7 separate regions of the Homo sapiens genome follow, and regions 2, 3, 4, 5, 6 and 7 are each linked to region 1. Evidence: promoter capture Hi-C in human tissues and cell types (Jung and others, 2019). All regions are on one chromosome and are shown on one strand. Each heading gives the region's core, a stretch centred on a gene start or on the middle of the fragment in contact. The rest is flanking DNA. Distances are from core to core; before and after follow the strand shown.

Region 1 (3,886 bases), core at 870-3,369:
CTTCAACAAAAGTCTGCTGCATTGAATGAGCATCTGGGATGAGCCTAAACCCAAAGCAATAGACCGCCACCTAATATATCTGTATTACTCCCCCTGGGGAGGCAGGTAGCCAGCCCAGTGGGTAGCCCTGCCCTCTATTTTTGAAGTAAGATCTTTCCCTGTCCCAGACCTAAACTAATCCCAGGTCTTTGTCAGCTCAGTGGAGGGCTGCAGATGGTAAAGTTTACACGGATGCATAAGGCGTATAGTCTCATAGTCTTTCCAGAAAAGCACAAATATGACAAATATGCATGCAGGTGGTTCTTCTGTCTCAGCAAATTCCAGAGCCTGAGCCCCAGAGAGGACACTCCTTCAAGCTCCTGAACTGGTGCAGGGGCCTGCTGACAGAAAGATCCCCAGAGGCCCTGTGGCCCATCCTTTCTTGGCTGCCTGCTCCTGAGCCCGCAGCAGCATCAGTGTCAGGCAGAATTCTGACAGCTGGAGGATACCACCCCACCACAGAATATGAATTAATTCACAGGGAGGCTCCTCGAGCAGGTTACCTCAGGTGTCCTGGCAAATACAGCCCGAAACCCTCTCCAAGGGGAGGCAAACAGGCCAAAGATCAACCTGCAAGAGTCCGGAGGGAGGAAAGTTCAGCAGTCCAGGCTACCTCTTCCACCAGCGTTCCGCTTTCTCAATCTCATCAGGCGGGCAGGGCCGGTTAGGAGGCTGACTGCTGTTCCTCAATTTCATTTCTTTTCCTTCATAAACATTTACAGAGTCACAGAACATTTTACTTTCTAGCTGTGTCATCCTGGGCATCCCTTACCTCAGAGATTTTCCTCACCCATAGAATAAAGATAATGATCTTTGCTCTGCATCCCTGACTGGCAGGCTCAAGTGAGAAGGCACAGGTGAAGGAGCTTCCTAAACTGCAAAGCCCTATGGGTATTATTGCCAATCACATTATCTGCGCCAACCCTCTAATCTTCCCGAGGAGGAAACCCAAGCTCAGGAAGGTCACGTGGTAGCCGTCAGGATGAGACTGGGCCCTTCGGAGTGCCTGTTATTCCCAGACGGTTTACTGAGTGGTGATCACAAGCACCACCCGGTGTCTCTCTCCCCTCTAGCGTGGATTAAGAAAAACTCCTTGGAAAACTTAGGTTAAAGAAAAAAGAAAGGGTTCCCGGGTGAAGCGAGGTGATGAGTTGTAAAGCCAGCTTCACTCTTCCCTCCCTGGCTCAGGAGGCTCCTGTCCAGGGCAACTCAGCAGCCTCGGCGTCCACATGGCTGACCGCCGCTGGACTCTTGCGGGCGATGGAGGACTGGCGGTGGCTGAGGTCAGCACCTCCCACCAGGCCACCCGCTCCGAATCTCATCATCGGGAGGAGTGAGGGGCCCGGCTTCAGGACAGTCCGAGGCGGCGGACTGGGGTGGGTGCAAAGGCCGGCTTGCATTTTGGGAGAGTGGTCCCTGACCCTCAGCCCGAGAGGTGAGAGGGAGTGAAGATACGGAAGCGCCTTTCCCTGGCGCCCGAAGAACAGAAATGTCTCCCTGTCTAGCGCCCATTCTCTCCCTTAAAGGAGTTATGTTTATTTTCCTGAACTGTAATATTTCCCAGGCCGGCGACTGGCCTGGGCTACCGAACGGCCCCTTGGGAAAAGTAGTTCGAGTTCACTTCCAGGTAAGTTCCCTTCGTCCCGGCTGCCAGCGCGTTTCATTCTCGGAGACCTCAAACCCCAGCGGGCTCCGCCAGCACCCCGAAAGCTGAAGTCCCGGCCGCCCGAGTCTCCAGACGGCTCGCATCCCGCAGAGGAACAAGAGGGAAAAACTACGCCTCCCAGCAGCCACCGCGCGCCTCAGTGCGCAGGCGTAGCCGCGCCTCGCCACCCCTCCCCCTCCCCCAACTGCTCCCGTCGGTCCGTTCCCGTGTTCCCCCCATCAGTTCTAATGTCCCCAGTCTCTCCGGCACCTCACACTCACCGCGAACTCGCGGCGTCGGATACAGCCGCTGTGCCTTCTCCAGGAAGCGGAGCGCCCGGTCGGGCTGGTTGCTCTGGATGGCCTTGAGGGCGATGCTGATACAGCGCTCAGCTTCATCCTTGTTGGATTCCATGGCGGAACCAGAACGCGGAACCAGGGAGGGGGAGGCCGGGCGAGCGAAGGGCTGCGCCACCCGCCGGCGCGTCGCGGGCAGCCGGGCGCGGAGTGATGACATCCACCCTCCGCCCCTCCTTTCCCGAGTTTTGAGCGAGGGTGGAAGTGCTACCGTATGTCTTCTAAGAAAGGGACGGCTGGTGTAGGTGTCAATAATGGTGCACGCCCAGATTCCATGTTCCGGAGGTCTTAGAGTTGAGTATGCGCCAACCCTCTAATCTTCCGGAGGAGGAAACCCAAGCTCAGGAAGGTCACGTGGTAGCCGTCGGGATGAGACTGGGGCCTTCGGAGTGCCTGTTATTCCCAGACGGTTTACTAAGTGGTGATCTATATACGTAATGTAACTACATACGTTTCAGACAAAGGTTATTTATTCACTGAACAGATATTGAGTGCCCACTGTTTGTGAGGCATGGTTTTATGATGGGGATACAGGGGTGAGCAAAACAAAGCTCCTGCTCTCATGGAGCTTACATTCCAGTGTGTGTAGGCTGGGGGAGCTCCAGATAGATTCAGATAGTGATAAAAGCTCTGAAGAAAAATTATGGAAAACACAGGGATAGAGAGTGGGAGGCGCTATTTTAAATAGCGCGATAAAAGAAACCTCTCAGAAGCTGTCATTAACAGGTACCAGAATTCAGGAACGATAACAGGTAGATGTGACTGTCTGGAGGAAGGGTGGTCAGGCCGAAGGAACAGCAAGTGCAAAGGCTCTGAAAAGGGAATTCTCTTGGTGAGTTATAACAGATCAGGAAGGCGAATACATTCTAGGGAGCGTAAAGATTCTACTACAGGCTGGGCGCGGTGGCTCACGCCTGTAATCCCAGCACTTTGAGAGGCCGAGGCGGGCGGATCACTTGAGGTCAGGAGTTCGAGACCAGCCTGACCAACATGGAGAAACCCCGTCTCTACTAAAAATACAAAATTAGCCGGGCATGGTGGCACATGGCCTGTAATCCCACCTACTCGGGAGGCTGAGGCGGGAGAATCGCTTGAACCTGGGAGGTGGAGGTTGCGGTGAGCCAAGATCACACCATTGCACTCCAGCCTGGGCAACAAGAGTGAAACGCCATCTAAAAAAAAAGAAGAAAAAAAAAAGATTCTACTACAGAGTGTAATCCAGTTCTATCATTATCCCGTTCTTCGAGGGCTATCACTCCAGTGAAAGCAATCTTGTGAAGGTTGCCAGTGACCTCCACGTTGCCGAATCCCCGAGTCATCTGTCAGCCCTTACATTGCTTGGCCTTTCAGGCAGGATTTGGTAAGATGCTACTACAGTAATCCGGATGAGAGTCAGGAAGCTACTATTATAATACAGGTGAAAATTAATGGTAACTTGGATAAGGGTGATGGCGGAGGTGGTGAGTAGTAGTAAAATTCTGGATATATTTTGAAGACAGAATGACGCAATGGATGTGGGCTGTGAGAGAAAGAAGATTCAAGGATGATTCCAATGTTTTTGGCTTGATAACTGGAAGAAGAGAATTTCTATTTACTAAAACAAGGAAATGGAAAAGACTACAAAAGCAGTTTGGTGGGGGAATATTAAGGGTTTGATTCAGTTTATGATGCTTTTTAGAATCAAGCAGAGATACAGACTAGGATGTTGTACATACGTAGGGTTTAGGCAAAAAGGACCTGGAAATATAACTTTGGGGCCAGGCACAGTGGCTCACTCCTATAATCCCAACATTTTGGGAGGCCAGGGGTGGGAGGATCACTTGAGGCAAGGAGTTTGAGACCAGCC
Region 2 (4,129 bases), core at 361-2,860, 380 kb after region 1:
TCTGTATTTAATTTTAGTTTCTACAATGAGTATATATTGCTCTATTAAAACAGTTGTAAACACTTGTTTCTTGGCTAGTGACATTGATGCAAAAAATATTCTCGTTTTGCAAATCAACACAAATTAATACTTTACAATTTTTCAAAAGTAACTTAGTAAATTACTATAAACAATTTAAGTGTTTAAAACCCTCTATTGACAGATTTGTGTATTCATGGACGTTGGATATATGGATTTTTTTTTGCCATTGGAAGACTGATTTGCTTCATTAGCCTTTATTCTTTTCTGTAGTTGATCTGGCTGGTGACAGTGAAAGTTAGCTGGGCTGTTACAGATCATTCTGCATGCTCAGATTTACCTTCATCTCCAAGGTTTGGATTATCAGATAACTAGACAGTAAGGCCCTGACTGCTGCTGCCTAGTACCCCTGTCTAAAGGTTTAGTCCTAAAAGGAAGTGAGAGTGGAAAAAATTGTTGCATTCTTAGGAAAATATTTCCTTCTAACCCAGACATCTTTTGTTTTTCCCCAGATGGTTCTGTTATATCCCCCAGAGACCAAGGGTTGGCCCTTTATGCTTATTAGGAAAGAAGGATTATGACCAACACTTGCATCCTGGGTATGTTTAGGATAAATGTTGCTAAGCTGCTTTAGTAAATAGATCGTAAACAGAAACTGAGCCACACCTCCTCCTGCCATTATTATCTTAGTAAATGTTTGCTTAGGATTTTGATTATTTAAATGCTGTAGTTCTCTCATGTACTTAACAAATCTGTAACATTTTGTCAGTAAAGAGATTTATTAATATGCTTCCTTTGCCTTAGCTCAATAGTGCCCTTTTGATGATTTTTTAGGCCAGGCATTTAGCAGTCTAAATGGTGGACAATCTTGGACATTGTTGCGTGCTGTCAACATAAAGCTGTTTGGTGTTTGAGATGGTAGTGCTAGGAAAAATGTGTTAGCATTTGCTAAAAGAGCTTTCACAGGCTGGTCGCTTTCAATGTTTAAAAAAAGTTTATGTAAGACTGTTGATACTTCACTACAGTGTTCCCAAAAGCTTTCTAGTCTTGTTAGTGAAGCGTGTGGGGTATATGAATTGTGGTTTAAACTCTAAATGGCCACAGACATTTTTCTTGAATATGACTCTTAACTTGCTTTCTCTAAACTTCAGTTTGATACTATAGCGGTTGTTGATACCATAGTAGTTGTGTAGTTCAAATTCTCCAGTCATGAGTTTTCATTCTTGGATATGGTAGTGTCTTTGAGGTCAGGAAGAAAGAACAGAAGTCACTAATGTTAATAGCAGAAACTTTAACATTATAGGAATAAAAGTGGTAATAATAGATGAGCAGAAACCTCAATTCAAGAAATACTTGTTTCAAAAAATTATTATTCTGTACCTTCTGTGTAAAATGCCCATTGCTAGGCCTGGGCCCCAGACTTTAAAGAGCATATAGTCTAGTTGTATTGGGTCGATAATTTGAAATGTAAAGAGAGGGGGTAAGGGAAGCAGCCATGTATGAATTCCTTAGAAGGAAAGTTGGCGCGTTATTTCCCCTTTTTCTTTCCTTTTTTTTTTTTTTCAGAGATGGTATCTTGCTCTATTGCCTGGGTTGGATTGACATGGTGCGATCTCAGCTCACTGCAACTTCCACCTCCTGGGTTCAAGTGATTCTTGTGCCTCAGCCTCCCAAGTAGCTGGGACTGCAGGTGCGCACCACTATGCCTGGCTAGTTTTTGTGTTTTTAGTAGAGATGGGGTTTCACCATGTCGGTCAGGCTGGTCTTGAACTCCTGGCCTTAAGTGATCCTCACCGCCCCAACTCCCAAAGTGCTGGGATTTCAGGTATGAGCCACCATGCCCAGCCTATTTCCCCTTTTTCTGTTTCTTACCTTTGACTTGAAGTTCAAGAGTGAGCTGTATAGGCACCAGGGCAACAAGCTGTTTCTTATATTCCTAGGAACTCCGTATTCTTTCTGCTTTTAAGTTGGCATGGGAGCAGGGATGAGCAGTGGTATTGTTGCGGTTATCTTCAGGTACAATTGCTGCTTTAGTAGTCTTTAGGACTTACAGGCTTTTGGGAGTTAATGTAGCTGGATAAATATTTTAAACGAATGAGAAAACCTAGACTGGACACTGGGAACAGAGTTACAGTCTAAGTAAAAACCACTGGAAAAAGCTTTCAAATTCTGTAAATATAACAAAACTAATAATTATAGTAATTAAGAAGAATTTATTTGGGGAAGGTGAAGGGGAAGTTGGAGTAAACTTAATAAGTATCCTGGGGGCTCTGAGAAATTGCTCCCACTCTTTCTTCCTTACTTATATGTCCAACAAATCAAAAATAGCCTCCTGGAGTGAAGAAGAGAGCCAATCATGGTATAGCAATAAAGTAAGTATATCCTACATGCTGGATTTAGCTTTTAGATTGAACAAATGTTAGAAAAGACTCTTTTCCTCTGATTTGTGCTATTTGTTTTAGATAAAATGGGGCAGAAAAACAAAGAGCCTTTCTAGAAAGTTTATGCTAAACAAGGAAATGTGGATTTTTAATTGTCTTGAGAAAAGAAATGTTGAGTGCTGATAGCTGTGATGTTGACATCTCAGCCCGTATTTTAATAGTTAAGGTTTATAAATAACAAAGCCAAAGGAAATGTTATGTAAAACTTACAGTTTCTTATCTGTGGAAATGCTATATTTGGCACCCAGTTTATAATGGTCACTCCTCTGCTTAAAATCCTGTGTTGCCTGTTGCCTGGACAATGAAGCTTGAAATCTGTGAACTTTGGTATTGAAAGCCCTTGATGGTTGAACTCAGTCTAGCCTTCCAGGCTATTTTTTTCTCCTTTCCTTTTTACAACGGAGCCTTTTGCTGTGCTAGATTCCTGAGATGTGCCTTATGGTTCTCTGACTTTGTTCACATCTTTTTGTGTGGGATATCCTCCTGTTCCTTTTCTACTGGTCAAAATGCTCGGTTTTTTTTAAGGCTTCAACTCTTTTGTTTTTACTATTATTAGGACACTCTTCTCATTATTATATTCAACTAGAGCCAAAAACATATTTGGTTATGTATGGGAAGACACATAACTATGTGCACTTATACAGTGTGAACAGTATGGTTTAAATGTCATGCCACAGTGATGTGCTATATATTATAGATGTATAATAAATTATAATTAAGTTATTGAAGTAGAAACTATGAATTGAGAGAGTCTAGGTGTAATGTGCCTTAACATTTTTTTTGACTACTAGTGACTAATCTTCAAAAAAGAAAAGGCTGGAATGACCAGTTTACATTACTGTGAAGTTCATATATTTGAATTTGAGATAGACCGTTCCTTTCAGTGCACTTTAAAAATAACATTTGGAATTATTTTTAGCACAACTGGAATCTCGTTAAATTGTATTGCATCAAATAGGATTTTAAAAATCCTGTATTGGGAATTGGAAAAGCTATAAAAGTCAGACTATATATGTGCTTTTTTTCCTTTGAATTCCAGCTTTAAAATGTTAACTTTAGTTCTAGGTGAATTCAGCATTTTAATGGTCTTCCTGGGAGTAGTCTTTCAGGCCTTTTTTGTTTATGAAACAGAGAAACATTTTTCGTTTTAAAGAAAGCCAACTTCTTATGTTCCCAAAGTCTGACTTTTTCCAGGGGTACCGCTTTAGGGGTATGTGATTATTCAGCCTCTTTCCTCTAAAAGTAGGCTTGGTATATGAAGTTAGCCAATGAAGAACATTAAGATTTTTTTTTTTTTTTTGAGACCAGGCTGGCATTCAGTGGTGCGATCTCAGCTCACTGCAACCTCCGCCTCCTGAGTTCCAGTGATTGTCTTGCCTTAGCCTCCCGAGTAGCTGGGATTACAGGTGCACACCACCATGCCTGGCTAATTTTTGTATTTTTGGTAGAGACAGGGTTTCACCCTGTTTGCCAGCTGGTCTTGAACTCCTGACCTCAAGTGATCTGCCTGCCTCAGCCTCCCAAAGTGCAGGGATTACAGGTGTGAGCCACCGTGCCCAGCTGAAAATTAAGATTTTTATTCTCTTCTCTTATGATCCCATCAATCATTGTCTTTTCTCCTCGATGTGTGTTGGTTAGTAGCTGTCTTGCCTACTGTTCTGTGGCCAACT
Region 3 (4,353 bases), core at 423-2,922, 360 kb after region 1:
TAGACAGGAAAAATGGATTTTCTGGTGTTTTTTTTTCTTTTTTGAGGGGACCCCTAGGGTATACTTTGTGTGAGTATCTGACTAGATATAGATATAGATGTCAATAGTTTGGTTTTGTTTATTTATTTTCTTGTTTTAACCCCAAAGAAAATGAAATCTTGTTTTCTTTTTATTTTCAGCTGTGACTTAAACGTTAAAATGCTGCCTAAGCACAGTTGAGATAGTAAAACAGGATTTTAGTGTAACATATTACAGAATTTTGGAATATTCATTTACTTAATGGACAGCTGAACTCCAGTCAGTGCTTTCTTTAAGTTTAATGTCTCATCCTGCATTGGTGTTCGATTCAGAATGAATTCAAGTTCTTAGTGTGGCCAACTGCCACAAAGTTGGGTGAACTTTAAATACATAATGGCTTTCTGTTTTGTTTTGTTTTTGAGATGAAGTCTCGATCTGTCGCCCAGGCTGGAGTGCAGTGGTGCGATCTCAGGTCACTGCAACCTCTGCCTCCCTGGTTCAAGCAATTCTCCTGCCTCAGCCTCCTGAGTAGCTGGGACTACAGGCACATGCCACCATGCCCGGCTAATTTTTTGTACTTTTTAGTAGAGATGGGGTTTCACCATGTTGGCCAGGATGGTCTTGATCTCCTGACCTCGTGATCTGCCCCCCTCAGCCTCCCAAAGTGCTGAGATTACAGGTGTGAGCTATAGCGCCTGGTTAATGGCTTTCTTTTTAATGATTCTAGAGCTTTTAACATGAGAAAGTAGAAAATGAAAGGAAACTATAATAGATTTCTTGCCTAAAATGGGTGTTCTTTGTAAGATGAAAAGTAGAGACAATCTGAGACCCTGAGTTATGGATCCGAAGGTCACATCACAGCCAGCATTAGACAGTCATAGCACTAGTGGAAGAAAAGGCAGAAGGTAAACTACTGATGGGAATGCTGTCAAAGGAGCTCACTTGGAAAGGCCATTCCATCACCTAAGGTTTTTTTTTTTTTTTTTTTTTTTTTTTGGTGGAGGTGGAGTGGTCCTTTATAAGGAAATTACATTATGTTCAATCAGACATACAAGGACAAAAATCTTTTATTTTTAAATTGTGAAGTATGTCATGTCTATAAAAAGTAGAATAATATAATATACAACCTTTAGCTTGAGAAATTGAACATTATGATTATAATTGCTGCCCCCAAGTACCATTCCTTAGACCTCTCTCCCAAAAGTAACATTCTCTTAAATTTGATGTTTACCATCCCATGAGTGTGTTTATCCTTTATCTACACCTATCTTATATAGTTTTGTAAGAATGTTTTAAAACCTTATTTAAAAGGTATTAAACTGGCCGGGCGCAGTGGCTCATGCCTGTAATCCCAGCGCTTTGGGAGGCCAAGGCAGGTAGATCACCTGAGATCAGGAGTTCAAGACCAGCCTGGCCAACATCATGAAACCCCTGTCTCTACTAAAAATACAAAAATTAGCTGGGCATGGTGGTGGGCGCCTGTAATCCCAGCTACTTGGGAGGCTGAGGCAGGATAATTGCTTGAACCTGGGAGGCAGAGGTTGCAGTGAGCCGAGATCATGCCATTGCACTCTACCTGGCAACAAGAGCGAAACTCTGTCTCAAAAAAAAAAAAAGTATTACACTGTATGTATCCTTCTGCAAATCTTTTTTTTTTTTTTTTTGGAATGGAGTCTCCCTTTGTCAACCAGGCTGGAGTGCAGTGGTGCGATCTCGGCTCGCTGCGATCTCCACTTCCTGGGTTCAAGTGATTCTCCTGCCTCAGCCTCCTGAGTAGCTGGGACCATAGGCGTGTGCCACCACACCCAACTAATTTTTGTATTTTCAGTAGACATGAGGTTTTGCCATGTTGGCCAGGCTAGTCTTGAACTCCTGACCTCAAGTGATCTGCCTGCCTCGGCCTTCCAAAGTGCTGTGATTACAGGCATGAGCCACTACGCCTGGCCTTTTTTTTTTTTTCCCTCTTAATACTTAAAAAAAAAAAAATTAGGCCAGCACAGTGGCTCATACTTATAATACCAGCACTTTGGGAGGCTGAGGTGGGAGGATTGCTTGAGGCCAGTAGTTTGAGGTTACACTGAGCTATAATTGGGCCATTGCACTCCAGCCTGGGGATAGAGCAAGACTGTGTTTCTTTTTTTTTTTTTTTTTTTTTGAGACAGAGTCTCACTCTGTCCCCCAGGCTGGAGTGCAGTGGCACAATCTCCATTCACTGTAAGCTCCATCTCCCGGGTTCACGTCATTCTCCTGCCTCTGCCTCCCGAGTAGCTGGGACTACAGGCGCCCACCACCACTCCCAGCTAATTTTCTGTATTTTTTAGTAGAGACAGGGTTTCACCGTGTTAGCCAGGATGGTCTCGATCTCCTGACCTCGTGATCCGCCTGCCTTGGCCCCCCAAAGTGTTGGGATTACAGGCATGAGCCACCGCACCCTGCCCAAGACTGTGTTTCTTAAAAAAAAAAACCCAAAAAACAAAAAAAAACTTATTTAGTTGATACATGTGGTTCTGGTTCATTCATTTTTAACTACTTTGGCGTTTCTGTCTCTATTTCATATATTTAAACCTCTGTTAACTGACAGACTTTTTGCTGAATATTCTGGGGGACAGGAAAAAGGAATTTATTATGTCATTTTTAAAGTTAGACTAGGAATGCTGTTTTGACTTTCAAAACCAGTTTTCCTTTTTTGGTGTGGAATGTCCTCGTTTATCATATTCCTGGGAAAATCCTTTGTACTTCCTGAGAGAAGGCAGAGAAGAAGAATGTTTTATTACATAGATGAACATGTCTTGTACAAGATACAGAGCAGCATCTGCCACAAAACAGTGAGCTCGTGGGGGATTGAGCTGCTGCAACAAAAGCCTGGGTTACTAAAATTCTCAGATATTTCAAGTGCAGACAAGCTGTGGGTGGAAATTTGTTGGCATTAATTCATTGTTTCTTTTCTGTGTGTTTGGAATTATCTGCAATTTGGGTACTATCTGCTTTATTTTGTAAAAGGAGATGCGCCTTTTATGGTAAAAAGGCTGTTCTTGAATTGTGTCGTGGTTTTATGGGGCAAGCAAAAGAAAAGTAAGGTCTAGAAATGAGGGGACATACTTTTTGAGACAGGTAGTTGGTGTGAAATAAATATTTGTTTTAATAATAATTCTGTACATATTAGTCAATGTATATTCTTACTTTGAAGTCATTGTTTTAAAAAGACAATCTCTGATAAAATTTTATCTTCTCAATTTCATGCTGTTGTCTTTCATTTCCAACACTCTTGATAATGGTTTGAACATTTTTGCAGAGTACACAGGGCAGAGCTTCATTCAGGTTGTCCCTCCAAATGATTTGCTGTAGTGCATTAACCAGAAATGCTGAGGCAGCAAGGGAAACACTAATAAATTGGATGGTTTCCAGGGACTGTCGCTACGGCAAGCAAACACAAGCCAAAATTAAAATGTTAGTTAGGCACCCAAGATATAAGTCTGGCCAGATATGCTATTAACAGTGAATCTTCCATTCTCATTAAATTATTTGAGATCTGTACAATTTGAAGATTGTTACAAATGGTGACCAATTTTAAGCATATTTTAATTAGGGGTGGTATAATAGTCTTTTGGCTAAAACTTAATTAGAATGAAAAAATACTTTTGCCTTTTTTATTTGATAGATTCCAGTGCCTCAGGAATGAACCTCCAGTAATGGGAGAGTTTTTTTTGTTTTGTTTTGTTTTTGAGACGAAGTCTCACTCTTGTTCTCTAGGCTGGAATGCAGTGGCGCAATCTCGGCTCACTGCAACCTCCACCTCCCAGGTTCAAGTGATTCTCCTGCCTCAGCCTCCCGAGTAGCTGGGATTACAGGTGCCTGCCACCAGGCCCGGCTAGTTTTAGTATTTTTAGTAGAGATGGGACTTCACCATGTTGGCCAGGCTGGTCTTGAACTCCTGACCTCAGGTGATCTGCCCGCCTCGCTAGTGCTGGTTTTCTTGCTAACTACACAAATTATACTTCTGTAGTAATTTTCACAAATTATTTTACCGTGAAAAGTATAGGTATGGGGAGAGGAGATAGTGGTATGTGAAAGGGCCTTTTGTATTTTTCTTGTTTTGGAATGATTTCCAATCATTTTCAAACAGAACCTCTAAACCAAAGAGTTTGTGTGGCTTGGCAAATGAACCAGAATTTTTTTTAATTTAGTACTTCAAGGTTTCTAAATTTTGTAAACTTGTTTCTGAAACTAGTGAAAGCCTGAAACTAGTGGATGGCCTAAGACTTTTTTAATTTAAAAAATGTTTCTTATTTCTTCATTGTTTGTTAGGGTTCTATCAGTTTTTTATATTCCGGACAC
Region 4 (3,872 bases), core at 639-3,138, 460 kb after region 1:
AATTAATTGAAATCGGAAACATTGGAGTGGAGCAGGTTTGGGAACATATTTTACTTCAGGGACTTAGAGGTATATTTGATAGAGCTATTCTAATAAGCAGCTAGAAATTTGAATCTGAAAATCAGTACAGAAAGGACTCAAGACATTATTTTCATTGAGATAATAACTTGAAGTTCTAAGAAAGGTTGAGCTCTCCAAACAGAATAAGTATGAAAAAACAAGGGCAAAGAATAAGCCTTGATGAGTATTTTGGGGATAGCTGGAAGAGCAAGAAGGCAATAAAGGAGACATAGAAGTGGTCAAAGACAGTAGAGTAAGAAGTAAATTCAGGAACTCCTAGAGTGTCATAGAATTCAAAGAAAAGAATTTCAGGAGGGAGGAGGTAGTCAGCAGTATCAAATGTTTCCAAGAAGGCATAATAGTATGAGAAATGAGAAAATATCAGTGGGAAGTAGGATTAGTGAAGGCAGGCTTCTGTGTGTGCATGTGTGTGTGTGTTTGTATGTGTGTGCGCGTGAACATATGTGTATGGGGGTGGACATAGTGTAGAACTAGACATGTCTAAGGTTGGAGAAAGGAGCTATTGAAGTTGGAGACATTAAAGATGCAAGAGAGAAGAACTAACTGAAGAAGTAAAGGTATTCACCTTGCAAAGGAGTGGGGAGACTTCTTTCCCTGTGTTAGAGTGAAAGAAGAGAAAAAAAGAAAATTGAGAGAAACTTGGTGTTGGAGAAGAGAGGAATTGTGAGGGTGAATTTCAGAAATTTCCTATTTTACTGGTTTCAGTAAAATAAGAGGTGACGTCTTTGACTGAGAGGCAGGAAACAGTTCTGAACAACTTCTGTAGGGAAGAAGTCTGAGAGTCCACTGACATATGTGAAAGCATTTAGTGAGTAACATGATTTTGTAGTGACATCAGTTAAGACAATTATGTTGCCTTTTTTTTTTTTTTTTTTTTTTTTTGACGGAGTTTCGCTCTTGTTGCCCAGGCTGGAGTTCAGTGGTGCAATCTCGGCTCACTGCAACCTCTGCCTCCCGGGTTGAAGTGATTCTCCTGCCTCAGCCTCCCAAGTAGCTGGGATTACAGGCGCCTGCCACCACGCCCAGCTAGGTTGTTGTTGTTGTTGTTGTTGTTGTTGTTTTGTATTTTTAGTAGAGACAGGGTTTCACTATGTTGGCCAGGCTGGTCTTGAACTCCTGACCTCAGGTGATCTACCTGCCTCAGCCTCCCAAAGTGCTGGGATTACAGGTGTGAGCCACTGCGCCTGGTCTGTGTTGCCTTTTTCTCATAGGCCTTGCTTTATCCCACAGCAGGAGTTGATGAAATAAATTTACCAGAAAGTAAGGATTGGCACAGTAGGTCTAGGAGGTCAAGGAAACCAAAATGCCAGAGAACATAGTTAAAATAAGGCTTATACTGAGTATGGAGATAGTAGAGAAAGGACAATAGGCCTGGAGAATATTGAAAAGACTTGGTAACTTCTATTGGTTATATCCAGTAAGAAACCTCCAACCTGCTCAGCACATGCTTTTAGAAATAGCTATTCAGTGTATACTTTATTAGTTTACCAACTGGGGTCACCCTTTGAACCAAAATAAACATGAATCTTTTACTGCCAATTTCTCAAGGCGAAAATGCGTAATTTATAATGTAGGAAAGATAGGCTATAAAATAGTTGATAAGATTTAAGTCTAGATTGCCTTTTCAGTTCGGTTGTGGTGGCTGTTGTTTGAGAAAAAGGTTATTGATGTTAAAGGATAGTTGCATTCTAGACGCAATGAGCCAAAATAGAATTTGTTGCGAACTTGTTAATGTGTTCATGTGTGTTTTTTGTTGAAGTGAGTTGACATTTTTATGACAAACATTTTTTTGTGTCTGTTGTAGTTGTTCAATGAGAAGAGGGCCAATATAACCAATAGACTTGGTCCTCTACTAATCTGAATAATAAGACTTGTTTTGTAAGACCTGTGGGGTCCCTTCAGATTATTCTTACAATTGGATTTTCTTTTCTTAACTAAGCAGCTACTCAATCTCTCTTTGCTTTTCTTTCAATGACATTAGAGTTCCAGAGCAAGAGGAAAGGAATCTTTCACTCAGTTTAGTTTGATTGAAAAGGCCCACTTAATTAAAATGTGTAAGTTGTCTTTGAGCTTATCATTTAATGATTTTCTTCTATCTCTGTATTAAGAGACTAAGTAATGATAATGTTTTGAATTTTTGCAAAATAAATTTCATGTTAACTAACTTATCTTTGAAGATAAAAGATAATTTCTCAAGATAACATGTTTTGAAAAGAATTTTACCAAAAGACCATACTGGCTTTTTCAGTATTATTTTCATATACATAGAATTCTGAATGCTGTCTTTTCCTTTATTACAGATATATTCAGAAACATTTCCCTGTATCTTCCTTCTTGTTTAGTTAAAAAATAAATTTTATTCAGCCAACCCTGTGTTCCTTGTCATTTATGTACTAGATACACTTGAAAACAGTTTCCTATATTGAATGTATTTTAGGAAATAATATTATTTACCTATTCATTTTGGATGTTTATAGTGCTTTTTTTTTTTAACATGGAGAGTAAAATGCTTTTAATTTGTAATTTCAAGGTTTCTTTTCTTTTTGTTTTTTTTCTTTTTGAGAGGGAATCTTGCCCTACTGCCCAGGCTAGAGTGCAGTGGTGTGATCTCGGCTCACTGCAGCCTCCACTGCCCGATTCAAGCAATTCTCCTGTCTCAGCCTCCCGAGTAGCTGGGATTGCAGACATCTGCCACCATGCCCAACTAATTTTTGTATTTTTAGTAGAGGCGGGGTTTCACCATGTTGGCCAGGCTGGTCTCGAACTCCTGAGCTCAGGTGATCCGCCCGCCTCGGCTTCCCAAAGTGCTGGGATTACAGGCATGAGCCACTGCGCCCATACTCCAGATTTCTTATACTTCATTATTGATATGAGGTGGAGACAGTGGGCAGAGCAAAAGAGTACAAAAGGAAGAAAAGTGACCAGAGAGAACAGAATTCTATGCAGAGATTTAGTGGTTGAAGACATGATGCAAAAGGACAAAGGAACCTCAGGGATGGTCTCTAGTGAGTAATCTTTAGTATTCATTATTGAGATATGCTTTAAAATAGTATCATGAAGGGCTGTTTTCTGACATAAAGGGCTGTTTTCTGACATAACTTTCTATCCTTACAGAAGCAAATTGTTGCAAAGCAATGTAAAGAGGAAGTAAGCTTTCTTCAAACCATTACTGCTTTATGTAATGTTTTATCAAATGCTTTGGCTTTATGTTGTCCGGTTTTTAGTGTCCTGTGGGAGGTTGGTGGAGAGGAGTATCCAGCCCTGAGTAAATTCAAAAATATGCAGCTTGACAAGTTAATCATCTCTGTGGCTTAGTGCTTCAAGATGTGCTTTAACTGTCACCTCTGATTCCTGGATCACTTTCATCACTGTCTTTTCTAAGCTGTACTAAACATTAAATAACATGAGGGTTCCTTGCTGCCAGCATTTAGAATACAGTCTAGTTCCTAGCCCAGTGTCCTAGCCCAACATTCTGGATTTTTTATATATGCTGTGAGGATGACTCATGGCAAGAGTTCGTTCAAACAGATTCCCCATAGGAAGCTGAAATGAGAGCTTTTGGCAAGGCAGGTAGAACCCATTGGAACATAAATTCAAATGATATATAGCTAGCTGTGGACTGCTAGTGAGCAACAGCTGACCAGCCAACTTGGAAATTAACATTTAGAGTCAGTGTCTTTTTATGAGCAAAGGCATCAACCAACAATGTGATGTAACGTCCAGAGCTGTAAACGACTCTGAAGACTGCAGAAACCTAACCCTTTAATTATAGAAGGTAATGAAAAATCAGG
Region 5 (3,855 bases), core at 575-3,074, 430 kb after region 1:
CACCTTGGTAGAGAATGTCAATGTGTAGACTTTTCAAATTAGATTTTATCATCTGGCATAGGCATACCACCTAGTTACATTATATGTAGAGCCTCCAGATACTTTAAAATAGATTATGTTTTACATTCCTTCCTATCCTTTCAGAACCATCACCTTCATGTCCAAAACAGTGTGATGCTATTCATTTTAGAATATTATTGAGGACATCACACTGGTGGCTCTTTGAAGGGATGTGTTTTGGACTCAGGTGTGGAACTGCCACATGCCACTTATTCAACTCTTTGGCATCTAGGAGGCTTTGCATATGCCATGTGCCACTTATTCAACTCTTTGGCATCTAGGAGGCTTTGCATATGCCATGTGAATCCTCTCTTCCTAGGAGAGTTTACTTAGTGGAGCAGTGTTGGGATTTCTAGCCTGGTTTCTTCTGAGGAAAAAAACATGTCAAGTTAAACCTTCCAGGATAAAGAGAGGATTTTGTTGGGGGGAGCTGTTGTATCTGAAGTGTTAATATAGAGCAAATGCAGTTTATTTTCTCAAAGGAAGGGAGAGAGATCATGCCAAGAAAAACGCATAGAGTGGGGTGGAGTGGAGTTGGGAAAGAAAATGTGACAAGTACCTAAAATCAAATGCCTATAGGAAGGATTTTCCCCATGATTAGCTCCAAATGTTGGGGAGTGGGGAGGATGTTGCTTGTTTCTTTCTTTATTTCTTTTTAAAAAATTGTTTTACTTTGTTCTTGACTCTTTAGTTTCAAAAGCAGATTAAGGAAAAGCTTATTAGGAAGTCTAGAGCCATAGGCACTATAGAAATTACCAGCCCCCAAAAGTCAATACCCAGTTACTTTACCTTTTTGGCTGTTCCACGTAATTAACCCTGCTGCTTGATCCAAGTGAAGCCGGGGGAAAGCCGGGCACCGTTGGATGGTGTAGCTCCTTGCTTAACCCCTCATGTTGTACTGCAAAGATGAATGCCCACTTACCTGGATCTCTCAGGGGATGACATTTTCCAAAAGAAGATTTTCTTCTGCTCCCTCTTGAGAACAATATAAAGAGTATGTAATTCAGAGAGATTACTTTGAATTTCACTAAAAGGGAAGTACAAAGGCTTTGTTTTTTCAGATCCTATCAAATTAATACTGTCACGTTTGGAAAATGTTGCTCTGTTTTGATAGATCTCTTAGAAGGATGTGTCTTATGCAAATAGTAATTGTGATTTTTAAAGCTAATATAAATGTGATTCATTTACTTAAAATCAAGCCACCTTGTAGCTGTGAGTAATTTTCCCATTTTGTTGAAGGTAAGTACAATTTTTAATTGGCTACATTTGGTTGCAGGAGAGGTTAAAGAATAGATTTAAGTAGGCATGTCTGAAAAGGACAGAAAGTTCCACAAAGCAGTTGTCAGCAGGGATTAGATCTCTGGATGTCCTTGTTTGTCAGGAAAAGCCTTCTGTGTATCCAGTAGCTTCTGAAAATGTTAATGTGGCACTGTGCAGGGAGTCAAGGGAACAGTCTCCTCATTTTCAGTGCAGGATGCTAGGGAAAGCCTGTCCGTATGTGTGCGTGGGTGTGTGAGTGAGGGCTGGCTGTGCACCCTGCCTCTCTGGCTGAAGTAAGTTGCAGAGCAGCTTTGCCTTTTCATGGGCTTGGGTGTGGGGAATCCCTCCTACCAAGAGTATTTTGGGAAATTCCTAAATGCTGATGTGTTCTCAGCTCTATATAATGCCCTTGTTGGAGTGAGGAGCAAAACACACATGGATAATGATTTTAAAGCACCAGTCAACCAATTCCTGGTGTGTGTGTCTTTTACTTGCTTGATAGAGCTGTTCAAGGAGAATCTTGCGTTGTCAAGGATTTTAGGCTTCTACATAGTACAGGGATTGCTCTTCTTTTCCTTTTCCAGGGCTCTTCCTGTCTCTAGATATTTAGCATACAGATGCAGTTTCATGATGTAGCACGAGAATCTCCCACATTTCCACATATATTACACAGTCGGCGAAGCAAGTGGTAGTGGTGGCTGCTCCAGCCAAACCTGGCAGTGCTACTGCCGTCACTTTTCTAATAACCTTGGTGTCTCTGCAACAAGGTTAGTGGTGGTGTTTACCAAAGCTACAACTTTGTTTCTCCTTTCTCTTTCCCTGCTTCTGTTGTCTCCCTGTCTCCCCTCCTGCTGCCCCCTACCACTTAGGTTAATGAACTTCCCTGTGGTATGCAGAAACTAGTCAGACATGCATCTTTAAAACACATTTTAGAGTTTTCAAAAATGTGCATAATAGAAATATATCCTAAAGTTCAAAAACATTCTGAGATTGTCACAGTTAGTGGCAGATTAAGGAAACAGAATATAAAATAGCCAAATATATTCCAGGAAGTCATGCTTGTTGAGTAGGCATTTATCTGACAGATTGAAATGAGCTTCTTTTGTGTGTTGGCTCATAGTCCAGAATTGCAAGTTTTTCACTTTTAGTGTTTATGTAAAATTCTCCTGCTGGCTCATTTCATGGAAATAAAGGCTCACTTCATCTGTAACTTGTATCTGTAGTAAGACCCTTACAAGGGCTGCAATTTTCATCTTGGTTTAATTTGCAAGAAAAACATTATTATGTACGTATAGCTACTTGTTTTAATTTAGTGTCAATTGTCAATGTCGTAGTAGAAATGGATGAAGAAAATCCTTTTGGAAAGGAGATTTTTATAGAAATCAAAGGAGTATTGCCCAGCAACTCTTAATAGGTGTTTACTGAATATATACTATGGGAATGTATTGCACGCTTTAGAGATTCTAAAGAATAACATATCCTTGCCTACAAGGTGTTGCTTACCAATTTGAGGAGATGAAGATTGTCCGTAGAATAGGGACTGAACAAGCACTGTGTGAAAAAACGGTATTATGCTGTGCAATAAAATTTCAAGAATAGGATAATACATAAAGGAACGATTTGCTGTGGAGATCATTTCATTATATGTGAGATTGATGTCCAGAGATGTCATCCAGTTTAGTTAATGTAGTTCTGGCTAGCTGTTTGTGGAATTCTGGCTAGTTTGTTTTTTTAATGTCCTTATCCTGTTTCTTGTGTTATACTTGAACACATCAACATAGAGTGAGAAGTTACTGTTTTTGTTACCTAAAAATGAGTCACATAGTAAAAAGAGATGGGTTGAGAATCAGATATATTTGATTTCAGATCCTGGCTGTGCTCATTCTTAGCTCTGTGTGCTCTGTGTGCCTCAGTTTTCTCATTGGAAGAACTGGAATGTAAGTTACTAATTTACAGATTTGTTGGGATTAAATTATTTTGAAGCATGGCTGGGTGCCATGGCTCTTTCCTATAACCCCAGCACTTTGGGAGGCTGAGGCGGGCAGATCACGTGGAGGTCAGGAGTTCGAGACCAGACTGGTCAACATGGCGAAACCCCGTCTCTACCAAAAATACAAAAATTAGCAGGGCGTGGTGGCAGGCGCCTGTAATCCCAGCTACTCGGGAGATTGAGGCAGGAGAATCGCTTGAACCCAGCAGGTGGAGGTTGCAATGAGCCGAGATTGTGCCACTTCACTCCAACCTGGGCAACAGAGCGAGACAATGTCTCAAAATAAATAAATAAGTAAAAATAAATAAATAAAGTATTTTGAAGCACAAAAGCACTGCTTTTTCAGTTTTCTCACTAAATTTAATCCTCCTGGAAACATGCCATCACTGGTAGAATATTAGGTATTTAGGTTATTTCCCATAGCACTTGTTCTTACACAAATCACCAAATGTGTGCTTTTCCACTCTCTCTTATGAATCCTTACATCCCCAATGTCAAATAGCAAAATAGCAAAGAAAATTTATATATGGAGAGAGAGGGGTTTT
Region 6 (3,991 bases), core at 758-3,257, 400 kb after region 1:
TAGCTGTGTGACCTTGATCAAGTTAGGAAGGGAATATAATAAGTATAGTGGTTAAAAGCATGGACTGTAGTCTCAGACTACCTGGGGTCAAATTCTAGCTATTTCTTACTAGATATGTGAACCTGAGATTTTTTTTTTTTTTTTTTTTGAGGCAGAGATTTGCTCTTGTTGCCTGGGCTAGAGTGCAATGGTATGATCTCAGTCACTGCAACCTCTGCCTCCCGGGTTCAAGCAATTCTCCTGCCTCAGCCACCCAAGGAGCTGGGATTACAGGCATGCACCACCATGCCCAGCTAGTTTTGTATTTTTAGTAGAGACGGGGTTTCAGCATGTGGATCAGGATGGTCTTGAAGTCCTGACCTCAGGTGACCCACCCGCCTTGGCCTCCCAAAGTGCTGGGATTACAGGCATGAGCCACCCCACCTGGCCAGCTTGGGCAATTTACTTTATGTCTTTAAGCCTGGTGTGTAATGTTGATGGTAGAGTGGGGAACAATTATACCTATCCAATGAGTTGTGAGTACTATATGAGTTAAATACATGAAGCATTTAGAATAGTGCCTTGCGCATAAATATAGTAAATACATTAAGTACTATTTAAGTGCTAACTGTTGTTATTGTTATTAATATTAGATCACTATGAGTTTGCACTTGTAGCCTGTAATTCAAAGCAATTTGAACGGCGGAAGCATAAATAGATAAATGATCATCTAAATATGGCATCTCTTCAACCCTTGTTGTTGTTGTTGTTTTTGCCAGATAAGAGTTTTCAAAGGTTGTGCCAGAGTACTTGCTTTAGGGATATTAGCCCAATTGAAACCATTTTTTTTTTTTTTTCATTGAGACAGAGTCTCTCTCTCTGTTACCCAGGCTTAGAGTGCAGTGATATGATCATAGCTCACTGCAGCCTCAATCTCCCAGGGTCAAGCAGTCCTCCCACCTCCGCCTCCTGAGTAGCTGGGACTACCGGTGTGCACCACCATACCCAGCTAATTGTTTTCTTTTACATGTTTTGTAGAGACAAGGTCTCGCTTTGTTGCCCAAGTGGGTCTCGAACTCCTGGTCTCAAGTGGATCCACCCACCTCAGCTTCCAAAGTGCTGGGATTACAGGTGTGAACCACCACACCTGGCTAATTTTTTGTGTTTTTATTAGATACAGGGTTTTGCTGTGTTGCCCAGGCTGGTCTTGAACTCGTGAGCTCAAGCAATCTTCCTGCCTCAGCCTCCAAAAGTACTGTATTACAGGTGTGAGCCCGGCCAAAATCAGTTTTTAAAAGAGGTTTACATGGCCGTATGGTATTCTCTTTCTTTTTTGGAAACAATACTATTTGTACCATGTTGTGTTATCAATCTATGTTTGGATTGTTAGCATTTAAGAACTACATTTTTCAGTAGATTGCTCTAGGTTATAGCCACTAACAATTACTTATACATAAAAATTTTCTTTTGAGTCATTAGCCAATTTGGGGGGCCTCTCAGGAGAAACTGCATAATTCACTGGGTGAATGCAAGTTCATTGCTCTTGGAGGCTGTGATAGCATAATCATTGCTTGCTGTATTCATGGTCAGTACACCTTCTGATTTGTTTTTAGTAGTAGTTTTGCCATATTCAAAGAAGAGCTCAATCTGAGGAGACTCCTTGATTTGACCTTACTTTGGCATAGCTAGCATATTACCTTAAGTTAGTGTTTGCCATCTATTTTGTTCCCTGACATTCTCTGTTGACGTTTTATGCCCCGCCCCCCGTGTCCAGCTCCCCTCCTCACAATCCCTGCCCCCTGCTGCCATCTTTAGCACTGGAAAGTTAAGAGTTTTGATCTCAGAGTTCATCAACTCAAGCTTTTGCTTTTTATTTGTAAAAGAACCATGTGAAGCTGGGCTCAGTGGCATACACCTGTAGTCCCAGGTACTTGGGAGGCTGAGGCAGGAGGATTATTCGAACTCAGGAGTATGGGTCCAGCCTGGATAACGTAATGAGACCTCCATCTTGAAAAAGGAAAAAAAAAAAAAAGAAAAGAACCATACGAAAGTACATAAGTGTATGAAAAAGCTACTTAACATTTCAAAAAGCAGTAAATGGCACATTGTCAAGTGAGTGGTTTTATCAGTCAGGGTCTCACAAGGAAAACAGAAACCATTTCAGGCATTTACAACAGAAGGAATTCAATGAGGGAAAATTATAATGCAGATAGTGAAAGAGCTGAGAGCCAAATAGGAGATGGTGAGGTAATGTAGAGATTAGCAACGGGAATCACCACCACCACCTCCTCCAGCTGAAGAAACAAGGGAGATGTGACATTATTGTATAAGGAGTACAAACAATATTGTTTCAGGGAAAAACATGAAAAAGGAAAATATAATTTGGGACAAGTACAGTGTGCTTCATCTCCTTCTTCCTCCTACTTCCCCAACCCCCACCCAAAGAACATACAGAAAGCTCTGTAAAAATTGCTAGTTTTTGAATGGAAGCTTTTTACTTTTTCTAAGAGGTGCGAGCCTGTGTGTCAGTGCTAAAATATAAAAGTAGTTTTTTAAAAGGCCATAAAAATTGGAGTAACATCACCTAGTTCATAATAATTTTTTTTTAATCTCTAAAGAGGGAAAGAATTTATGCCTAGCTAGCTGAAGTGGTCTGAAGAGATAATTTGAAGAGTTATTTGATAATATAAGCCAGTGTTTTTCCCCAACTAAATAATTCTGTCCCCCTCCCCCATGAGAATGTTCTTTGAAGCAATTGTCAGAGAAGAAATATAATTTTTCCTTAACCCTCATAAGTTCATAGTTGGGGACAGACCTTTGTGACAAATGACAGATTAACAAGCGAAAAACAAGCAGGTGTATATTCACGTGTGCAGTGCACATGATGCAGGAGAAACCTCAGTGAGAAGTAATTCAAAGCAGTGGCTTAGAACACTTGCCTATGTAGCATCTTCAACAAAGAGCAATGAATTTTCCAGAAGTGACAAGACAAAGAAAAGCAGGTTAACACTTCTAAAGGTGGGGAACTATGGGAAGGAAAAGTAAATATGTGGCAGTAAACTAGTGGAGTAAGATTTGTGATCCCTCTGGTGCCATATCTGAGTTGATAAGTTGTCTCCAGTAAAGGAGAATTTATATCTTTAGGTAGAAAAGCAGGAGAGGAGGATAGAAAGAGCTCTTCCTTTATTCATTAATTTTTCTCAACTCCCTCTTCACAGATTTGGTTAAGAGAGTCTAAAACTATGTTGTCCAGGTTGGCCTCAAACACCTGAGCTCGAGTGATCTCTCATCTCAGTCTCCCGAGTAGCTGGTACTACAGCCACATGCCATTGCACCTGCTTCTTCGGTTTAAAATATTTATGTCAAAGAGGAATATTTTGGGGTGACATATTCTGGCTTCCTTTACAGCCCTCTGTGCTATATCATGTCCACAGATACAGTTGTGTATTGGTACACAGAGAGACGGTGTGTAAAATCTCAGAGAATTGATGGTGTATGTATGAAACCTCAGAGAAACTGCCACCCAGAGAAAGGGAAATAGTTACTAAGGCAGTCTATTTCTTTTTTCTGAAAGTATGAATATGCAACTTTCAGTTACTAGAATTAATTTACTTCAGGCTGCTTGTGGGTGGATTAGATTAATTGATGAGTATTGGTCAAGAAATAAACCAATGCTTTTGCTGAATGGGCCAATTTTTTTGGCTTTCCCTAAAAGCAGAAATCACAGAATCATAAAGGTAATTAAACCATGGTTTTCATGGCTGTTTAATCTATTTTCTTGACTTTGAGAAATTTAGTGTTTGAGGCTTTTAAAAAATCTCTCTTTTCCGTAATATTACTTAAATTTTCTATTGGAAACACAATTTTAAGACAGAATTAATAAGTAGTGTGGAATAAGACAATGATAATACACTTAGAATAAGGTTTGAAAAATGCAGTATTATTTAATGGAATGAGCTTCAAGATAAAAAGGCTCTAGTTCTGTTTGTAGCTCTGTACCTGTTTAGTTGTA
Region 7 (4,137 bases), core at 710-3,209, 500 kb after region 1:
CAGCCTGGGCAACAGAGCAAGACCCTATCTCAAAAAAAATAAAAATAAATAAAATAAGGTATATTTAATAAGTCAATAGCAGAGATTAGCCTGAGCATTGTGGCTCAATACTGTAATTCCAGCACTTTGGGATGCTGAGGTGTGAGAATAGCTTGAGTCCAGGAGTTCAAGGTCAGCCTGGGCAACATAGTGAGACCCTGTCTCTACCCCCACCAAAAAAAAAAATTATCCAGGCACAGTTACATATGCCTATAGTCCTAGCCACTCAGGAAGCTGAGGTAGGAGGATCACTTGAGCCCAGGAGATCAAGGCTGCAGTGAGCTGTGATCACACCACTGTACTCCAGGCTGGGAGACAGATTAGGACCCTGTCTCTAAAAAAAGAGATTAAATTATAATAAATAGTGATTAAATGAAAAAATCCTTTTTAAAGAGATTAAAAGATAGTAAATCTAAAAATGGCAAGAATAGAGGAAAAGTAGAAGAAAGAACAGTAGGGTCAAAAAGAAAATAAGTAGTAAGATGGTAAGACTTATATTCAGCCATACTTAAATTACATTAAATGCAAATAATATACATACTTTAATTAAAAGGCAGAGATTGTTAGATTGGATAAAATAGCAAGACCCAACTATAAGCTTTCTACAGGAAACTCACTTTAAATAAAACATGGATAAGGTAAAAGGATAGGGAAAGATATACTATGAAAACATGTCACACAAAGGCTTGTATGCAAATAATCATAAAAGCTTTATTCATAGTAGCCAAAACCTGGAAACAACCCAGATGTTCGTCAACTGGATAAACAAGTTGTGGTGTGTCTATGCATTGACACCCTTCTCAGCAATACAAATGAATGACTACTAATGAACTAGTTAATTAATGAACTACTAATAACAACATAGGTGAATCTCATAATCATGCCAAGAGAAAGAAGCCAGATATAAAAGGGTCCATAGCGTGATTTTATTTATATAAAAATCTATAAAAACCTAATATAATCTGTGGTGACAAAATCAGATCAATGGTTACCCAGGGATTAACTGGGATGGGGATCAGAGAATTTGGGGGAATCATAGAAATGTTCTTTATTTTGATTCTTATGTAAAAACTCATCAGATTTCCATTTTAAGTAAGAATGTATTTTGTTATTTATAAACTATGTCTCAATTAGGTTTATTTCTTGAAAATTCAAATCATGAAAGATTTTAGTGTGAAGATTTTGTATATAATGTAGGCCTTATGAATTACTAGAATAGACAAGGAAATAAGATGTAAATGTCTACAACTACAACTATGGAAAGCTTGATGCATTTTGGATTTCCAAAACATTAATCTTAACATATGTTTGCTATAAACTCTTTGATTAGTAGGGATATAAATCCTTAGAAGCATAATAGAATGTAATTTTTGACTCTTACTTTATTTTTAAAAATTGTTTTTAGAAGCCAGGCATAGTGGCTCATGGCTTTAGTCCCAGCACTTTGGGTGGCCAAGGTGGGTCGCTGCTCAAGCTCAGGAGTTCAAGACCAGCCTGGGCAACGTGGTGAAACCCTGTCTCTAAAAAAAAAAAAAAAAAAAAAAAAAATAGCCTGGCATGGTGGTGCACGCCTGTAGTTCCCAGCAACTTGGGAGCCTGAGGCAAAAGAATCGCTTGAGCTTGGGAGCTCGAGTCTGCAGTGAGCTGTGATCATGCCGCTGCACTCCTGGGTGATAGAGCAAGATGTCTCAAAAAAAAAAAAAAAAAAAAAGGTTTTAGACATGGGGTCCCACTCGGTTGCTCAGGCTGGAGTGCAGTGGCACAATCATAGCTCACTGTAGATTCAAACTCCTGGGCTCAAGCAATCCTTCTGCCTCAGCCTCCTGAGTAGCTGAGACTACAGACACATGTCGCCACATCTGGTCAACTTTTGATTCTTCAAAGAAGCTAGTAAGGAAACATTATCATTTATGTATCATGTAATATGCTAAGTGTTTTAAATTATTTATGTATTTCACTCATTTCTCACAACAGCTCTGTGAGTTAGGGATTAAACCCCCCCCTTTTTTTTTCAGACAGATTCTCACTCTGTTGCCAGGCTGGAGTGCAGTGTCGCGATCTTGGCTCACTGCAGCCTCCACCTCCTGGGTTGAAGTGATTCTCCTGCCTCAGCCTCCCGAGTAGCTGGGACTACAAGCGTGCACCACCATGCCCAGCTAATTTTTTTATTTTTAGTAGAGACAGGGTTTTACCACATTGGCCAAGATGGTCTCAATCTCTTGACCTCATGATCTGCCCACCTCGGCCTCCCAAAGTGCTGGGATTACAGGCATGAGCCACCATGCCTGGCCAAAGCCCATTTTATATACGAAAAAAGTGAGGCTCAGAGAAGTTATATAATACACCCAAAATTACAGAGCCAAGGTTCAGTCCCATATTTGACTCCAAAGCCTGTTTTCTTTCCTCAGTGCTAACATCATCTTTAAATGCTCAGTTGCTTATGTAAAAATTTTTTATTTTAAAAATGCATTTTTAAAAAAATGTATGTGAAAATTATTCCAAAAGAGGGCTATTTTGATAGTTGTTCTACTGGGACCCTACAAATCAAGAATACTGAGGGAGAAAATAAGGAAATAGGCATTCTATGCTATACTTTTGTAGAAGATCCCTTCAATTTAATAGTTCATAATAAATTTTCCCTTCATAACATTTTGTTATAAAATCTTAAACATCTGAGTTTTGGTTCTGTCTAGCCAAGCTCATGAAGACATTCAAGAGAACATGAATTGTTTTTGATAGAATGCTAACTTATGACAACTGAAGAATGGCGAGGTTCATAAATTTGGAAAGGAGACCTATATTTCTCATAAAGGTTGCAGGCTGCAGGGTGGCCATTCTGACAGGCTGGGAAGTGTAGCCTCCATTCAGAAGCCAAAAACAGACACTTTGAGGAAGAGGCAAAAAGAACAGGATGCATGCTGAGCAGGGTGGCCAAATATACATACTCAGTACGCTATAGGAGAGGCCATGCATATTTATGAAAGGAGAAATGTGTGTATGCACAACTGATCTTCATGCCCCTTCATGGGTCCCGTGTACAAAAAATGGCTGCGTCAGCATGATCTGAGGGTGGAGTTTTCAGCTCTCTGGCATCAAAAGATGAAGCAGAGGGTGTGAAAACCCTCACTGCGCATTCTCTGTAGACTGGCCAGAACCACTCCACGGTCGGTGGCCTCTTGTCAGGCAAAAAAAAGGGGCAGTGTTGGTCAGTTAATTGGTTGATATCAGTGGTGGAGTCTTCTGAAAGGGCTAGTTTCTCTTAAGCCCTTAGGAAAGAATGCCTAATGGTGGCTAGCAAGGAAGGGGTATAATGAATTGTGTCTGACCTCCCATCCTGTCATGGCTGAGAACTTAGCTTTAAAGGTTTACCCTGGGGTCCCCTTGGCCAAGAGGGGGTCCATTCAGTCAGTTGAGGGGCTTAGGATTTCACTTTTGTTTCTCACTTATCAGCTTGGATATAATACTGTACTATATATACATGAATTGACTGTTTTGGAGTAAGAGTCTCACTTATTAGTGTACTTCTTGAAAGCTCTGGATCCCGAGAGCCACGTCCTACAGGCTATGAAGTCTAGCCCAGCAATCTCTGACTGCTTAATAAAATCTTGCTAAATGGAACCAGGGCTTGTATTCACCAATATCAAGAACTTCACCTGATATCCTTGGGAAAGCCTCTCCTTGACCCACTCAGAAGACAGTTCCTTGCCTGTTTTTTCATATCTGTAAAATGAGCTATGTGATCCATTTGATCTTTTATAAGCCAGTTCCCAGAATAACCTTCAACTAAAGCTAAAGGGCATGTTCTTAAACCTTCTTTGAAAACATTTTAAATCACACTAATAATAGACCCCCATGCAAGAATGGTAATAATGTGACTTTAACTTACATTGAAATCCAATTATCATATGTTTGTGGGTCTTTTTCATTCAGATGTTACAGTGGTTTATCAAAATGGGTTACCTGTGATATCTGTGAGGCTACCATCCCGGCGTGAACGCTGTCAGTTCACACTCAAGCCTATCTCTGACTCTGTTGGTGTATTTTTACGACAACTGCAAGAAGAGGATCGGGGAATTGACAGAGTTGCTATCTATTCAC

The links. The method cuts DNA at HindIII sites, captures the fragments that hold promoters and counts their contacts. A contact is called where the count stands out against the background at its distance.
Region 2: a contact is called between a fragment that was not itself captured here and the fragment with the promoter of DNAJB12 in region 1, in 1 of the 25 tissues and cell types used here (dorsolateral prefrontal cortex).
Region 3: a fragment that was not itself captured here is called in contact with the fragment with the promoter of DNAJB12 in region 1 in 2 of the 25 tissues and cell types used here (lymphoblastoid cells and stomach).
Region 4: a fragment that was not itself captured here is called in contact with the fragment with the promoter of DNAJB12 in region 1 in 2 of the 25 tissues and cell types used here (lymphoblastoid cells and mesenchymal stem cells).
Region 5: a fragment that was not itself captured here is called in contact with the fragment with the promoter of DNAJB12 in region 1 in 1 of the 25 tissues and cell types used here (dorsolateral prefrontal cortex).
Region 6: a contact is called between a fragment that was not itself captured here and the fragment with the promoter of DNAJB12 in region 1, in 1 of the 25 tissues and cell types used here (heart right ventricle).
Region 7: a fragment that was not itself captured here is called in contact with the fragment with the promoter of DNAJB12 in region 1 in 2 of the 25 tissues and cell types used here (H1 embryonic stem cells and spleen).

What each region holds. Positions count from the first base shown.
Region 1 is chr10:72,352,800-72,356,685 of GRCh38, forward strand. DNAJB12 (DnaJ heat shock protein family (Hsp40) member B12) reads right to left here and starts at 2,120. Exons shown (of 9, transcript NM_017626.7): 1 at 1,966-2,120. The coding sequence starts at 2,098. RefSeq lists enhancers at 1,577-1,706, 2,097-2,346. The HindIII fragment of the contact is 25,714 bases long and covers 1-3,886 here.
Region 2 is chr10:72,735,955-72,740,083 of GRCh38, forward strand. All of the region lies in intron 1 of MCU (mitochondrial calcium uniporter), which reads left to right. Among named protein-coding and RNA genes, the nearest start is that of MIR4676, 17 kb to the left of the region's middle. The HindIII fragment of the contact is 4,157 bases long and covers 1-3,689 here.
Region 3 is chr10:72,709,557-72,713,909 of GRCh38, forward strand. The region is part of intron 1 of MCU (mitochondrial calcium uniporter); the gene reads left to right. Among named protein-coding and RNA genes, the nearest start is that of MIR4676, 9.3 kb to the right of the region's middle. The HindIII fragment of the contact is 7,468 bases long and covers 1-4,353 here.
Region 4 is chr10:72,809,524-72,813,395 of GRCh38, forward strand. All of the region lies in intron 1 of MCU (mitochondrial calcium uniporter), which reads left to right. Among named protein-coding and RNA genes, the nearest start is that of OIT3, 82 kb to the right of the region's middle. The HindIII fragment of the contact is 7,136 bases long and covers 1-3,872 here.
Region 5 is chr10:72,783,157-72,787,011 of GRCh38, forward strand. The region is part of intron 1 of MCU (mitochondrial calcium uniporter); the gene reads left to right. Among named protein-coding and RNA genes, the nearest start is that of MIR4676, 64 kb to the left of the region's middle. RefSeq lists a silencer at 215-509. The HindIII fragment of the contact is 4,735 bases long and covers 1-3,855 here.
Region 6 is chr10:72,755,019-72,759,009 of GRCh38, forward strand. All of the region lies in intron 1 of MCU (mitochondrial calcium uniporter), which reads left to right. LOC124902450 (a long non-coding RNA gene) reads left to right here. Exons shown (of 2, transcript XR_007062189.1): 1 at 1-3,991. Among named protein-coding and RNA genes, the nearest start is that of MIR4676, 36 kb to the left of the region's middle. RefSeq lists an enhancer at 1,911-2,410. The HindIII fragment of the contact is 4,389 bases long and covers 1-3,991 here.
Region 7 is chr10:72,855,208-72,859,344 of GRCh38, forward strand. MCU (mitochondrial calcium uniporter) reads left to right here. Exons shown (of 8, transcript NM_138357.3): 3 at 3,970-4,137. Among named protein-coding and RNA genes, the nearest start is that of OIT3, 36 kb to the right of the region's middle. The HindIII fragment of the contact is 7,322 bases long and covers 1-4,137 here.